3 separate regions of the Homo sapiens genome follow, and regions 1 and 3 are each linked to region 2. Evidence: promoter capture Hi-C in human tissues and cell types (Jung and others, 2019). All regions are on one chromosome and are shown on one strand. The core of a region is centred on a gene start or on the middle of the fragment in contact, and the rest is flanking DNA. Distances in the headings are between cores, read along the strand shown. Region 1 overlaps TRABD2B (TraB domain containing 2B). Region 2 holds the start of FOXD2 (forkhead box D2). Region 3 overlaps TRABD2B (TraB domain containing 2B).

Region 1 (4,224 bases), core at 1,721-4,220, 500 kb after region 2:
TGCCGTGCTACCTAGAATGCCATTCTCCACTTTGATGTATATAAATAGCAGCTGAGACATTCCCCTCCAGAGAACCTTCTCTGACTCCCTCTAGTCCTATGTAGGTGCCCTTCCACTGGGGCTAAACTCTTGCACACACTGCTCTGTTGGTACACTGTGTGCCCCTGGAGAGACAGAACAGAGCTCCAATCATCTTTGTAACTACAGGGCTTGACACAGTGAGTATCTGCTGAACCAAACTTTTCCCAGATAGCAGATGAATCAGAGGGATAGACAGCACTGTCCAACAGAACTTTATGCAACAACAGAAATGTTCTGTGTCTGTGCTTTCCAATACAGTGATCACTCAACACAAGTTTGTGGTTATTGAGCCCTTGAAATGTGCTGGTGCAACTGAGAAACTGAATTTTTAATTTAATTTAGTTTAGGTTTAAATAGTCACAGATGGCTAAGGGTTGTTTTATTGGACAGCACAAGTTGGAGGGTAGAAAGAAGGGGTTGGGGAAAAGCTGATGTTATTAAACACTTAGTATGTGCTAGGCTTTTGACACTCTTTAGTATGTTAATCTTTACAATAATTCTGTGAGATGGCAAGCACTATTTTCCCATTTTAGACAAGGAAGTTGAACCTTAGAGAGAGAGTCAGTGACTTGCTGTGAGCCCTCAGCTTGGAGACTGCACAGCAGGTCCCTGACTCCCCAGTCTCTGGTTCATCCCACCACACTAGGCTGACCTCACACCTATGCAGGGCCTGGCCCTGGAGGTGCTTTGTGAAGGAGTCCTCCCCATTCCCACACCCCCTCCCACAGTCCCTGCAGGCACACAGGTCAGGCCCACAGCCCTGTCCTAGCTGGTAAGGCGCATTCTTCTGGCAGTGCTGCTGCATCACTCACAGACGTCTGGGGGCAGAGGCTGAGTGTGGTGAGGCAGGAGGCCTTGGCTGCCAGCGGGAGGGGCAGGCGGGCCCAGAGCCTGCTAGCATTCTGCTCCTTGGATCTCCCCTCGCGTGAGCAGCTTTGGGGAGTTCTCTTGGTGCTGTTGTAATTTATTGTTTCTGCTCTAATGATTGCTCCATGTCTGATTATAAATGCCTTCTGGCTGGGGGCCCAGACTCAGAAAATTCCCGTGATCTGCTTCCAAAGCTGATGGAGCCACAAATGGGACTGATGTCTCTGTTTCGTCATCGGCCACATTTACAAGGGAGGAGGATCCAAGGCCAGACACAGGGCTTAGAGTGGAGATGTAACAGGAGGCATCTGGTGACCTGGAATTCCCATCAGAGCCCCAACAGGGCATCTCCTGAGTCCTGGAGAACCTTCAAGATGGTACTCAAAAGAGCCTACTCCCTTCCTCTCAAAATGCAAGGCAGAGTCCGAGTTGGAAGCAGCAGGTGATACAGTCACAGTGAAAGGGGCCTCCGAAAAACACTGTCCAACCCTGCTAATGCCCTCTCTTTATCCACCTGGAAAATTCCTACTCATGCCTCAGGAGGCAGCTTTGGCATCCTGCAAGAAGCCTGCTCTGACACCCACAGCCTCCCACCCGCAGGTAGACAAGTAGTCTCTACTCCCTGTAAATCTCTTCTAGCATGGCACACCATAATCATAATTACACCTACTATTTACTGAGGGCTTCCTCTTTGCCAGGCACCATGTACCTTATCTATTTTTCACCTCATCCCTGGGAGAAAGGCACTATCCTTATCCACATTTGACAGACTAGGGAACAAAAGCTCAGAGAGGTTAAGGGAGTTGCTTAAGGTCAAACAACTGCCAAATAATGGAGCTGGACTTAAATTCAGAAGATTCCAACCCAAAATTTAAGCCTTACACCACATGTGTTCGCACCCGTCGTCACTGTATTGCAACAGGCTGTTTTGTCTCTTGCTTCATTAAAATAGAGCTTCTGGGGACATATCTGACCTCAATAACACGGGTACTCAGGAAATGACCACTGAGCAAACTTCACATAAAGAAAGTCCTAGTGCACTAAGTAGGTAATAAAATTAGGGCAGTCACTTATTACTGCCCTACTGCAGGATATTTAAGAGGACTCAAAAAAGCAATGGGCAAAGGCTTCAACAAGCAAGTAAGATAGGACTGCAGGAAAAAAACACTATATCTCAACTGGGACTGAAAAGTCCTGAATTTTCTAGGTTAGTCCTACTTTTAAATACCATATCTCATCAGTTCCTTATGTCACCAGAATGACCTAGAAACCCCAATATTTAGATATCTAAACTGTATCTCTTATATGATATTTCATGCCCACGCATCCCAAATATCCCACTATGTCTTGTAATTTAGGATGCAGGAAATAAAGCCACAGAAAAAAAGAGCTTCAACTTTAGAGGAAGGCAGACTCATGCTCAAATTCCAATTTTGCTGCTCATTAGCTGTGCAATCCTGGACAAACTGTTTCCCTTCTCTGAGACTCAAATGTAAAAATAGAGCTAAGAGCTGCTGCCTTGCAGGGCTGTTAAGCGTAGTAAACAGAAGAACATATGGGAAAGCACCCAGAATGGCACCTGGCACACAGGAGGGACTCAGGAACTATGAGGTCTCTCCTCTCTCTCAAATGAGGTCAGGCAAGAAAGCCATTCTTAGCAACAGACTCAGCTGAATGCAAAGGGTGTGATGTACTGGTGGACCAATGATCAAAGAGAAGAGATTGGTTTACTTGGGGCTGAGGTCATGAATTGACTTCTTCATCATTTATAGACTCACAATGAGTGTGGATGAAATAACAGGCCACCCTAAGAGCAGCCCTACATTAGGGCAGATGGAAAGAGATGGGTAAAATCTTGCCCCACTCCCAACTAGGAGCTCACAGGGTGCTGGAGCAGAAAAACAACAGGAAAGGTGAACAGAGAACCCAGCAGGTATGAGGGCAAAGGGCAGACAGACCATGAGGAGGTCTACCAAGCCTAGAGATGTCAGGAGAGGCTTGTGGAAGAGCTGAGTCTTGAGGAAGGGATAGAACTTCTAGGAAAGCGTATCTTCAGTTACAGAGGAGTGCTGTACAGACAAAGGAAAAGGCATAAAAAGGATAATAAGTTTTAAAAATTAGTTTGCCACTATATTTCGGATTTTGGAGGAAGCTTAAAAAAACCTATTGCACTCTCCTTGTTGTCAAAGGTATTCTGTTTCCTCCGCTTATGAGCTGCGTGATCTTGGCCAAGTTAATCATTCAATGCTTCAGTTTTCTCATCTGTAGAATAAGTATGATAACAGTACCTGCCACATTGGAATGTTCTATGGAATAAGTATGTGGAAACCATTTACAACACATTGATCAACAAATAAGAATCATCATCATCATCACCACCACCACCACCATCACCATCACTACCATCACCATCATGATCATCACCATCACCACCACCATAATTATCACCATCACCATCATCACCACCACCATCATGATCATCACCATCACCACCACCATCATGATCACCACCATCACCATCATCACCACTACCATGATCATCATCACCATCACCACCACCACCATCATTATCATCATTATCACCATCATCATCACCACTACCATGATCATCACCACCACCACCAGCATGATCATCACCATCACCATCATTACCACTACCATGATCATCACCATCACCACCACCACCATCATTATCATCATTATCACCATCATCATCACCACTACCATGATCATCACCATCACCACCACCACCATGATCATCACCATCACCATCATCATCACCACTACCATCATGATCATGACCATCACCACCACCATCATGATCATCACCATCACCACCACCATCATGATCATCATCATCACCACCACCGTCATGATCATCATCATCACCATCACCATCATAATCATCACCATCATCACTACTACCATCATGATCATCACCATCATCATCACTACTATCATCACCATCATCACCACCACTGTCACTATCATCACCATCATCATCACTATCATTGTCATCACCACCATCATCATCATTATTACAAATGAGAAAACTGAGGCCCAGAAAATGGAAGAGGTTTGTTCAGGGTGACTTAGAGAGTCAGAGGCAGGCCCTGACACTTTTACTTTTCTACCATTCACAGAATTTTTAGGAAAAAAAAAAACAAGCTTCCTGTCACAGGTAAGAGACCCAAGATCCTTGATAAAGGAGTAGGGTTCATGGAGGTGGGGCCACCCAATGTTTAAGTGAAGGTATTGTCTCTTAAGGCCAATCAT
Region 2 (4,030 bases), core at 773-3,272:
GGTCAGAGGTCCCAGAGGGGGCCCAGGCGACTTCCTCTCAAAGGACATGAGTAGTCAGACCTGCCTTCCATTTTTTTCTGCCCTTACCTTGGGGGGATGAAGAACTCTATTTTGAGGATTCTGTGAAAAGGGTTGCAACCCAACTCTGTTCTATTTCTTTGCAGGAGCCTGGGTGAGTTCTTTCTCCCTATCCTGGGCCTCTGTAGCTCCATCTGTGGAATGGGAGAGTTGGATTAACACCAGGCTATCCCGTAGATTGGAGGCTGCTGTTAGATGAAACTGCAAAGTGTTCTCAGTACCCTTTCCTAAATGGCCTAGAATATGGCTACACTTATACATCAGTTCTGAGGTAGGTGTTACTAGCCTCATTTTTACAAAGGCAGAAACAAAGCGCAAAGAACCTTGCCCAAGGTGACAGATAGGGTAAGTAGTGAAGGCAGGATTGGAACCCCAGGAGCCTGACTTAAGGTCGCTGCTCTTAACTACTATGCAGACCAGGAAACTGAGGCTCCGAAGCGGGGAAGTCACCTAATGAGGGTCACACAGCCTTGCTACAGCGGAGGCAGCTGGGATTCCGGCCTCGCACGCCCGAGCTTTAGCCACTGTGCGGCGCTGTCGGGGCAGCAGCCCAGGCATCCGCTCAGTTCCTGCTCACGTCCAGCGCCCATCTCCCCTTCCGTGCCCCAGAGGCTGAAATGGGCCCAATCTGTGTTGAAGCTGCTTGTTTCTGGGTCCTGGAGGGAGGCCGGGGGAGAAAGAGGTCTAATAGGATGGGCAGGAACCCGGCTAGCGAGAAACAAGGCACAGGGCCAACCTTAGTTGCACAAGACTTTTGAGAGATGAAGGCAACACTTGGTGGAGGTCAGGGTTCACTGAGGGGGTGTCGGGCAGGGGGCGGAGGAGGTCCTGCCGCCTGTCGGTGGGGCCCAGAACCCTGGGAGCCAGGAAGGTGGGGGGTGTCCAGTCCTCAGGGCAACTGGGGCCAGGGAGAGGGGAGGGAGAAATTAAGCGGATTCCCAGACCCATGAACAGACATCCAGACAAATGCCGTTTCCACAGAGACTCACGGAGAGTGAGATAGTCACAGAGACTGAGACAAACGGATGCCGAGATCCAGAGGGTCGGAGAACAGGCAAACTCGGAGCAGTAGACCGGCCCGCGCCCCGGGAACGCGGCCACAGCGGCCGGCGCTCTGCCCGGCCTCTCCGCGCGGAGAGGGGTGGCGGGCCCGACAGCGGAGGGAGGAGAGGGCGCCGCCGCAATCTCACCTCTCCCAGGCCCAAGGCTGCGGGCGCCAAGTTCGCTCCTGGTGATCACTCGAATGCGTCTCCCCTCGGGCTGGAAGCCGTGCGGGCTCGGGTGGGCGCCGGCGGGCCGCGCTGGGGCGGCGTGGGTCCCGGCGTCTCAGCCTCGCGCTCCCACTGCGCTTCGGCCCGGTGGCCCGGGCGCCGCCTTGGGGAGAGGACGGGTGGGGACCGCCGCCACTTCCCTGGCTGCGGCTGGCGCCCGAGTGAGCCTTAACATCCAGGGGCTGAGCGTTCTGAAGGCGGCGGCTTCAGGGAGCACAGGGTGCAGGAGCGGCGGCGAAGACAAGGGCCCGCCTCCGGCCACTCGAGCCCAGCTCCCGCCGCGGCGGCGGTTTGTTCCCGCCGGGTCCCTCAGCGGAGGCGCTACGCCCGCCCCTGTCGCCTCGCCCCACCCCGCCCAGGGAGCTCCGCCCTAGCCCGCAGCTCTTCCGCCTTAGGCAGCCGCTAGGCGGGAGGGACAATCCCCCACCACCAACCACTGCCACCCCGAGGGGACTAGGGGCTGAGGCCCGCCCAGGTAAGGGAAAGCCTCAGCTCCTTCCGTTGCGCCCCAGCGGCGGGTCCCAGCTCGGATTCCCGGGGTAGTGGCGGGGGCCGCCGGCGGGTCGTGCCCTGGAAGGTGAGCGCGGCCGAGCTGGGCCGCCAGGGGGCGCTGCGGAGCCGGGGGACACCCCTCCCTGCCTGCCTCAGTCCCCCGCCCCCTCCCCGCCCGCGCGCAAAACGCACTCGCCCCAGAGGCAGCGCGGCCGAGCCCGAGCCGCTGCCGGAGCGGAGCCGGAGAGTGGCGGCGGCGGCGGCAGCGGCACCATGACCCTGGGCAGCTGCTGCTGCGAGATCATGTCCTCCGAGAGCTCCCCGGCCGCGCTGTCCGAGGCCGACGCAGACATAGACGTGGTGGGCGGCGGCAGCGGCGGGGGGGAGCTCCCAGCTCGCTCCGGGCCCCGCGCCCCCCGGGACGTGCTCCCCCACGGCCACGAGCCTCCCGCGGAGGAAGCCGAGGCAGACTTAGCCGAGGACGAGGAGGAGTCTGGTGGCTGCTCGGACGGCGAGCCCCGCGCTCTGGCGTCCCGGGGGGCGGCGGCCGCAGCGGGGAGCCCGGGGCCAGGCGCCGCGGCGGCCCGCGGCGCAGCGGGGCCCGGGCCGGGACCGCCGTCGGGGGGCGCGGCGACGCGGAGCCCGCTGGTGAAGCCGCCCTACTCGTACATCGCGCTCATCACCATGGCCATCCTGCAGAGCCCCAAGAAGCGGCTGACGTTGAGCGAGATCTGCGAGTTCATCAGCGGCCGCTTCCCCTACTACCGGGAGAAGTTCCCCGCCTGGCAGAACAGCATCCGCCACAACCTCTCTCTCAACGACTGCTTCGTCAAGATCCCCCGCGAGCCGGGCAACCCGGGCAAGGGCAACTACTGGACGCTGGACCCGGAGTCGGCCGACATGTTCGACAACGGCAGCTTCCTGCGGCGTCGCAAGCGCTTCAAGCGGCAGCCCCTGCCGCCGCCGCACCCACACCCGCACCCTCACCCGGAGCTGCTGCTGCGTGGCGGGGCCGCGGCGGCGGGGGATCCCGGCGCTTTCCTGCCCGGCTTCGCTGCCTACGGCGCCTACGGCTACGGCTACGGGCTGGCTCTCCCGGCCTACGGCGCACCCCCGCCGGGGCCGGCCCCGCATCCGCACCCGCACCCGCACGCCTTCGCTTTCGCCGCGGCAGCCGCCGCCGCTCCTTGCCAGCTGTCGGTACCCCCAGGCCGCGCCGCCGCGCCTCCACCCGGACCTCCGACGGCCTCGGTGTTCGCAGGCGCGGGATCGGCCCCAGCTCCTGCGCCTGCCTCAGGCTCGGGCCCGGGCCCGGGCCCCGCAGGCCTGCCCGCCTTCCTGGGCGCGGAGCTGGGCTGCGCCAAAGCCTTCTACGCGGCGTCCCTGAGTCCTCCCGCAGCCGGCACCGCGGCGGGTCTGCCCACCGCACTTCTGCGCCAGGGCCTCAAGACGGACGCGGGCGGTGGTGCAGGCGGCGGGGGCGCCGGGGCAGGGCAGAGGCCTTCCTTCTCTATAGACCACATCATGGGCCACGGTGGCGGCGGGGCAGCACCCCCGGGCGCCGGCGAGGGCTCTCCGGGACCGCCATTCGCGGCAGCCGCGGGTCCTGGGGGCCAAGCCCAGGTCTTGGCCATGCTGACTGCTCCGGCCCTGGCTCCCGTTGCTGGCCACATTCGCCTCTCGCATCCCGGGGACGCGCTGCTGTCCTCAGGGTCCCGGTTTGCCAGCAAAGTCGCCGGCCTTAGTGGCTGCCACTTCTGACCGCAGCAGGCCCAGGGCCGGTTAGGTCCGCACTCCTCAGCCTCTCCCGGGAGTTCCTGCGGTCCCAGCGGAACTCAGGGAGTCTATTTATGAAGTCTCCAGACCTTGGGCCGGCACGCGTGACACGGCACTTCAGGCTCCACGCACAGAATCTCGCAGATAGTTGGGACTAAGCGGGCTCTATCGCTCAGGGCGACAGGCCCGGGGCTACGCGAAGAAGTCGCAGGCCAAGATTCTTTACAGTTTGAGAAATAAAAGCAGGGGGGTGGGGGCTTCGTTTTTTTCCCTGCCTCTGCGCCTCTCGGGGAACACATTCCGGGAGAGATGCCTGGCCAGGCTCCACGGATCCCGCCAGAAACACCAACAGAGGGTCTCCCTTTCTGCCTTTCCCCTCTCACTTCTTCCCCAACGTTGAGACCCTGCTTGTC
Region 3 (4,694 bases), core at 1,015-3,514, 350 kb after region 2:
TCTTTTCACCTGTCAATCTAGCCTCAGCTTCCAAAGGCAGATGTGATGTGGTTGGACCCCTCAGTCTCCCACCATGGGGGCAGAAGATGTAGGTTTTAGGCTGGGTTTTGCTGTGGGATAATGTAGAAGCAGGCAGCATTTCTGTTTATGGACCTCAGGGTTGGTGCATTCATTCATTCATTCATTCATTCATTCAACAAGTGGGTAATACGCACCTTCTTAGTGCTCAGGGAGTGGACATCCTAGACTGGGAGCATGAGAGAGGCTGTGATAGCAAAATCCTGGAGGCCTATGGGAGCCCAGAAGGGAAATCAGGGAAGGCCCAGCAGAAGAATTCCCAGCAGAACAGAGGGCCCAAGTGACAGCTGGATGGATTTTTTAGGGATCAGGATGACTTCCTGGTCATCAGGAAGAATGACCTAGACAATGTGACCACCATTTCACTTCAGTTCTAAGACTCTCTGACATCCCATCTGTACTTGGATTTACTGACCAGCCAAATGGAATAATAAATACCATCCTGTTTCCCTCCAAGAGGAATTGAGGATGTGGAAGGGCCATATAAGTTGATGGATATGGGAATTTTTTCAAGCAGGATGGTGTCCACTCTCTAGGGAGCAATTTCTAACGTTATGAATTTTAAAAGGTGTTAATGGTATTCTGTGTGTTGGTCTTATATCTCTCCCTTCTCTCAAGCCTGGGTGCTTACCTCTGATCTGCTTCTGTGTCCCAGCTTCACAGGTGTGTTTTGGATTATGGGGTCTGCGGCACTCTAGCTGGGGTAGAAACAGGCTGGCATGAGCCTGGGGGCTGCATGTGCCAAATGTGTGGGTGCCTGAGTAATGGAGCCAGCCTCTCTGTCTCTGGTGCTCACACTGCTTGCCTCTTAACTCTTCAAGTTCTGCCTTCTGCCTGGACTTCTGCTCCCTGTGGAGCAGGTGACAGCAGTCCTGCGAAGAGTGATTTCCATTCCTGGAAGGCTCTTAGCTCCATACTCCTCCCAAGGAATCCAAGAGAGGCTGGAGCAAATAATGCTAGCATGTTAGAAGGCTCTGATTACAGCATGCTGGAATATTAGAGCTGTGCAACTTTAAAGCAACAGCATGTTAGGGTCAAGGATTTTGGAATGTCAGAAGTTAGAATTATACTCAGATTATAGCACGTGCTAGGGACGGAGTGTGTGATAACCACTGGTTCTCAGAGTTTGAAATGAATGGGCCCTAGAGGTTACCTGGTCCACCCCTGAGTCCGGCTCATGTCTCCAGCCCAGTTCCTCTAATTCCTACATTACTCATTCTAGTCCAGGAAAAAAGAATGCTAGAAGATTTCTGGATGGCTGAACAAGTAAATATCCTGAGAAACCTGTTTCCCTGGAACTAAGGGTAAAATTGTAATTTTCTTCTAGTGCATAAGACTGGACCCCACCCCCACAATTGGGCCTGGAGATACCTTGACTCAATGGAATGAACTTCATTCTGTGTGATTTGGTCCAGTATGTCCTCACAGAACATCTCCTAGGTGTCAGCAATTCTGAGGCGTATGTGCCCTGTCCTGGAGTAGTTCACATGCAATGGGATGATCACTGAGCAGTGGGTGCTAGGATAAAATCAGCACACAGGCCTGGGTGACAACATCCACATTTACACCCCAGCTGCTTGGTGTTGCTGGAGAAAATCTTACACCCGTGACTTGGCAGGTTCATGGGCCCTCATTGCAGTCAGCATCCTCTATGTTCCTAGCATAGACAGAGCAGATTTGTAGCTGGCATGTGCCCTAATCTCGGTCCCCAGCAGACATCACAAATCAATAAGGGCCTCTTCTCTGCTGGGCTCTGATGCGACTTTATCATCTTATACCATAACGTTCCAGGCAGGTGCTACCAATCAATCATAATGGCCCATGGGAGGAAACATCTTTAACTTCTTGTCCTGGTCAGTTCTTGTGGCCAATTTCTCTTATGTCAAATAGTCTCACCTCTTCAAACCAAGAATCCTCCCTTCTCTCTCCTCTTCCTCTGTGGATGACTTCACCTTCTACTTCAGACAGTGGTGCTCTGATTAGAAGCCATCAGCTGAGAATTTGCTCCCTTTTTGGCTGCCAAATTACTTGCCTGCCAGCCTCCTCCCTCCTTCCCTTCAGTTACAGGTGAAGAGGTGTCTTCCTCCACCCAAGGCGTCCTCCTCAACCCTGCACCCAAGCTCTGGTCCCCACCTTGCTGCCTTCTTGGAACCTCAGGCTTATCATTTTTCCCCCCTCTCTCCTGTATCATCAGCCTCACTCATCCTAGAATATTCTCTTCCTCATATTTCAAGCATGCTCAATTCTTTCTCATCTTAAAAAAAAAAAAGGTAGGTGAGTGGGAAGAACAATGCAATTACCAGATTTTCATTTTGCCAAATGAGGACTTTGAGACTTTTATCTGCTTCCCACCATCATCTTTTTAATTTTCTTAAGTAAGGAATATTTTAACTTCAAACACAGTTGAAAGGAGATAATTTCAGAATATAAACCTGTAAATTGAATAAATTTAGCTAACAAGGAATTCACCACCTTGTACTTATTTTTCTGTTAATTGTACCAGAGGAAACCCAAGGACCTGCATCTACAAGCAACTGGACTAGAAAATCTTGGGGGGCTCTTGAGGCTCAGCCTGTCCAGCTACAGGAGCTCAGCAGACAGAAAATGGGCTTTTCCTCCCCTCTGGATGACACACCCCTCCATGGCCACAGCCTGGCTACTTCCAGAACATCTGGGCTTGCACACTGGCCACAGCCACCTCCTGGATAGGGAGGGCTTCCATCTGGGCCCCCCCAGCATCACCCAGGCCTGCTCAAGGTTGTCACACATTTGCACCCCACCTGCCCTGAACTGCAGGGTAACCTCTAGAAGAGGTCACACAGTGCCAGGTTGCAGAAACATCACAGATGCTAAGAGTATTTCATGAGAGGCACCAGCTAAACAGGCACTCGTTTCCACAAAATCATCAACACTTTTGTATGCATACAGCAAGGGCACCACGTGCAAGGGAAATGGCCACACCTGGGACTCAAGAGGCCAGGCTTCCCATGGCAGGTCTGCCTCCATGGCCTTGAGGAAGCCGTTCATCTTCCCTGAGGCTTTGTTTTCATCTGCAAAATGAGTATCATTAAAATCCATCTCGTGGTGTTACGTAATCAGAGAGCCTGGAATGGTGGCTGGCACATAGTAAGGGCTTTTATGATAAGAACCCTTCCACCATGGAAGAGCATTTTAATACTGTGTTCTCAAATGAGTGTATCCAGAACAATCCCATGAGGCAGATGTATTGTCCCAGTTTTACAGATGAGGGACTGAGGCCCTTGGAGGTGAAATGGCTTTCCCAGCATCTCTTAGCTCACAGTGGCAGAGCCATACTTTACACCCAGGCCTCCTGACCCCAAAGCTCTTACCCTTTGCACTGAAGCCCCCTCAGAGCAGAAGAGAGGAGAAGCCAGACTGCAGTCAGCACTGGAAATCCCTGTCTGTCCTCGCAGGCTCTCAGGGCAGGATTCTGGAGCTGGGCTGGGTCGGGGTTGGGTCCTAACAAGCACTGGAGGGGCCAGGCAGGCGGAGGCTCAATCTCTCACCTTCACATGCTTGGCCCCATCCAGACTCCAGAACCACAGAGCTTTCAGGAACTTCAGCTGGACACTGAGGCTGGGCCTGTCGTGGAATGACAGAAGAGCCCCCAGCAGGGGCTTGGCTCAGACACCTGGCAAGGCTGGGTTGGTGGGGGTCATATGTTTCTATTTCCAGAGATGTTTCTTAGAGATACCCATGGACTCTAGGCTTGAGAGACATTTGCATGAGCAGACACATGCCTGGGGGATGGATAGCTGCATTCCTGGTAGTATAGACCCTTCCTACATCCCATAGCCTTGGGGGTCTTATGAGTTATTTGGGACCTGGCAGGCAATGGGCTGCGAGAGCCCACTGAGTCCCAGGGTCCCCACTGCCCGGCAGTCCGGGGACAGAACTGCAGGGGCCCCCAGGTGGGTAGGTGAGGAGTGGAGCGGGTATGTCTTCAGGTCTCACTCCACCAAGAGAGTGCTTAGTCCCAGCTCTGCACGTAAGTCAGCCTGTCACCAGATGTGGGACTCAGAAATTACATGATCATAAGAATGTAACGAGGCCGGAGTGGACTTCCCTCACCACAGCTTTCATGCGGATGCGTTCCATGTCAATAGGATGACTCTGTAACAGGCCCGCTGGGGTGGCTCAATGCCCTGCACACAAAAACAGAGCCCTTGGATCATAGATCCTGGGCCTAGGGTACGGTTCTGGCCTTGTCCTGGACTTTCTGGGGGCTTTGCTCATGTCCCTGCCCTCTGTGGACCTCAGTTGTCCCACAGCCAGGATGAGGTGGGCAGCTCAAGCTCAGAGGCTCTGTCCAGCTTGGAAATTCTTGGGTGGAAAGGAGATCTGCTGTGCAGAGTGGGCCATTTGTTCCAGGCATGGCTGAGCCAGGAGAAGTGGCAGCTGCCAGCAGGATCTGCACGTGGCTCCAGATCTGTTGTTTTTGGAGAGTGGATTCATGAGAGCGGAGGTGAGTCTCCCTTTGCCCTGACTTTACTGCTGGCCTATCCTTATAAATTCACCAGCCCAGAGGAGAACAGGATGGGAGACCCTGGTCAACGTTCATTTCTTCACTCATTCATTCTTTCATTCACTCAGCA

Evidence for each region. The method cuts DNA at HindIII sites, captures the fragments that hold promoters and counts their contacts. A contact is called where the count stands out against the background at its distance.
Region 1: a fragment that was not itself captured here is called in contact with the fragment with the promoter of FOXD2 in region 2 in 1 of the 25 tissues and cell types used here (heart right ventricle).
Region 3: a fragment that was not itself captured here is called in contact with the fragment with the promoter of FOXD2 in region 2 in 1 of the 25 tissues and cell types used here (pancreas).

Annotation. Positions count from the first base shown.
Region 1 is chr1:47,933,542-47,937,765 of GRCh38, forward strand. The region is part of intron 2 of TRABD2B (TraB domain containing 2B); the gene reads right to left. Among named protein-coding and RNA genes, the nearest start is that of TRABD2B, 62 kb to the right of the region's middle. RefSeq lists an enhancer at 351-866. The HindIII fragment of the contact is 4,707 bases long and covers 618-4,224 here.
Region 2 is chr1:47,436,022-47,440,051 of GRCh38, forward strand. FOXD2 (forkhead box D2) reads left to right here and starts at 2,023. Exons shown (of 1, transcript NM_004474.4): 1 at 2,023-4,030. The coding sequence starts at 2,115. The coding sequence ends at 3,602. It overlaps LINC01389 (long intergenic non-protein coding RNA 1389), which reads right to left and starts at 1,296. Exons shown (of 5, transcript NR_126355.1): 1 at 1,269-1,296. RefSeq lists silencers at 503-662, 1,143-2,042, 2,073-2,252 and an enhancer at 3,441-4,030. The HindIII fragment of the contact is 12,527 bases long and covers 1-4,030 here.
Region 3 is chr1:47,787,607-47,792,300 of GRCh38, forward strand. The region is part of intron 4 of TRABD2B (TraB domain containing 2B); the gene reads right to left. Among named protein-coding and RNA genes, the nearest start is that of LINC01738, 100 kb to the left of the region's middle. The HindIII fragment of the contact is 8,311 bases long and covers 1-4,694 here.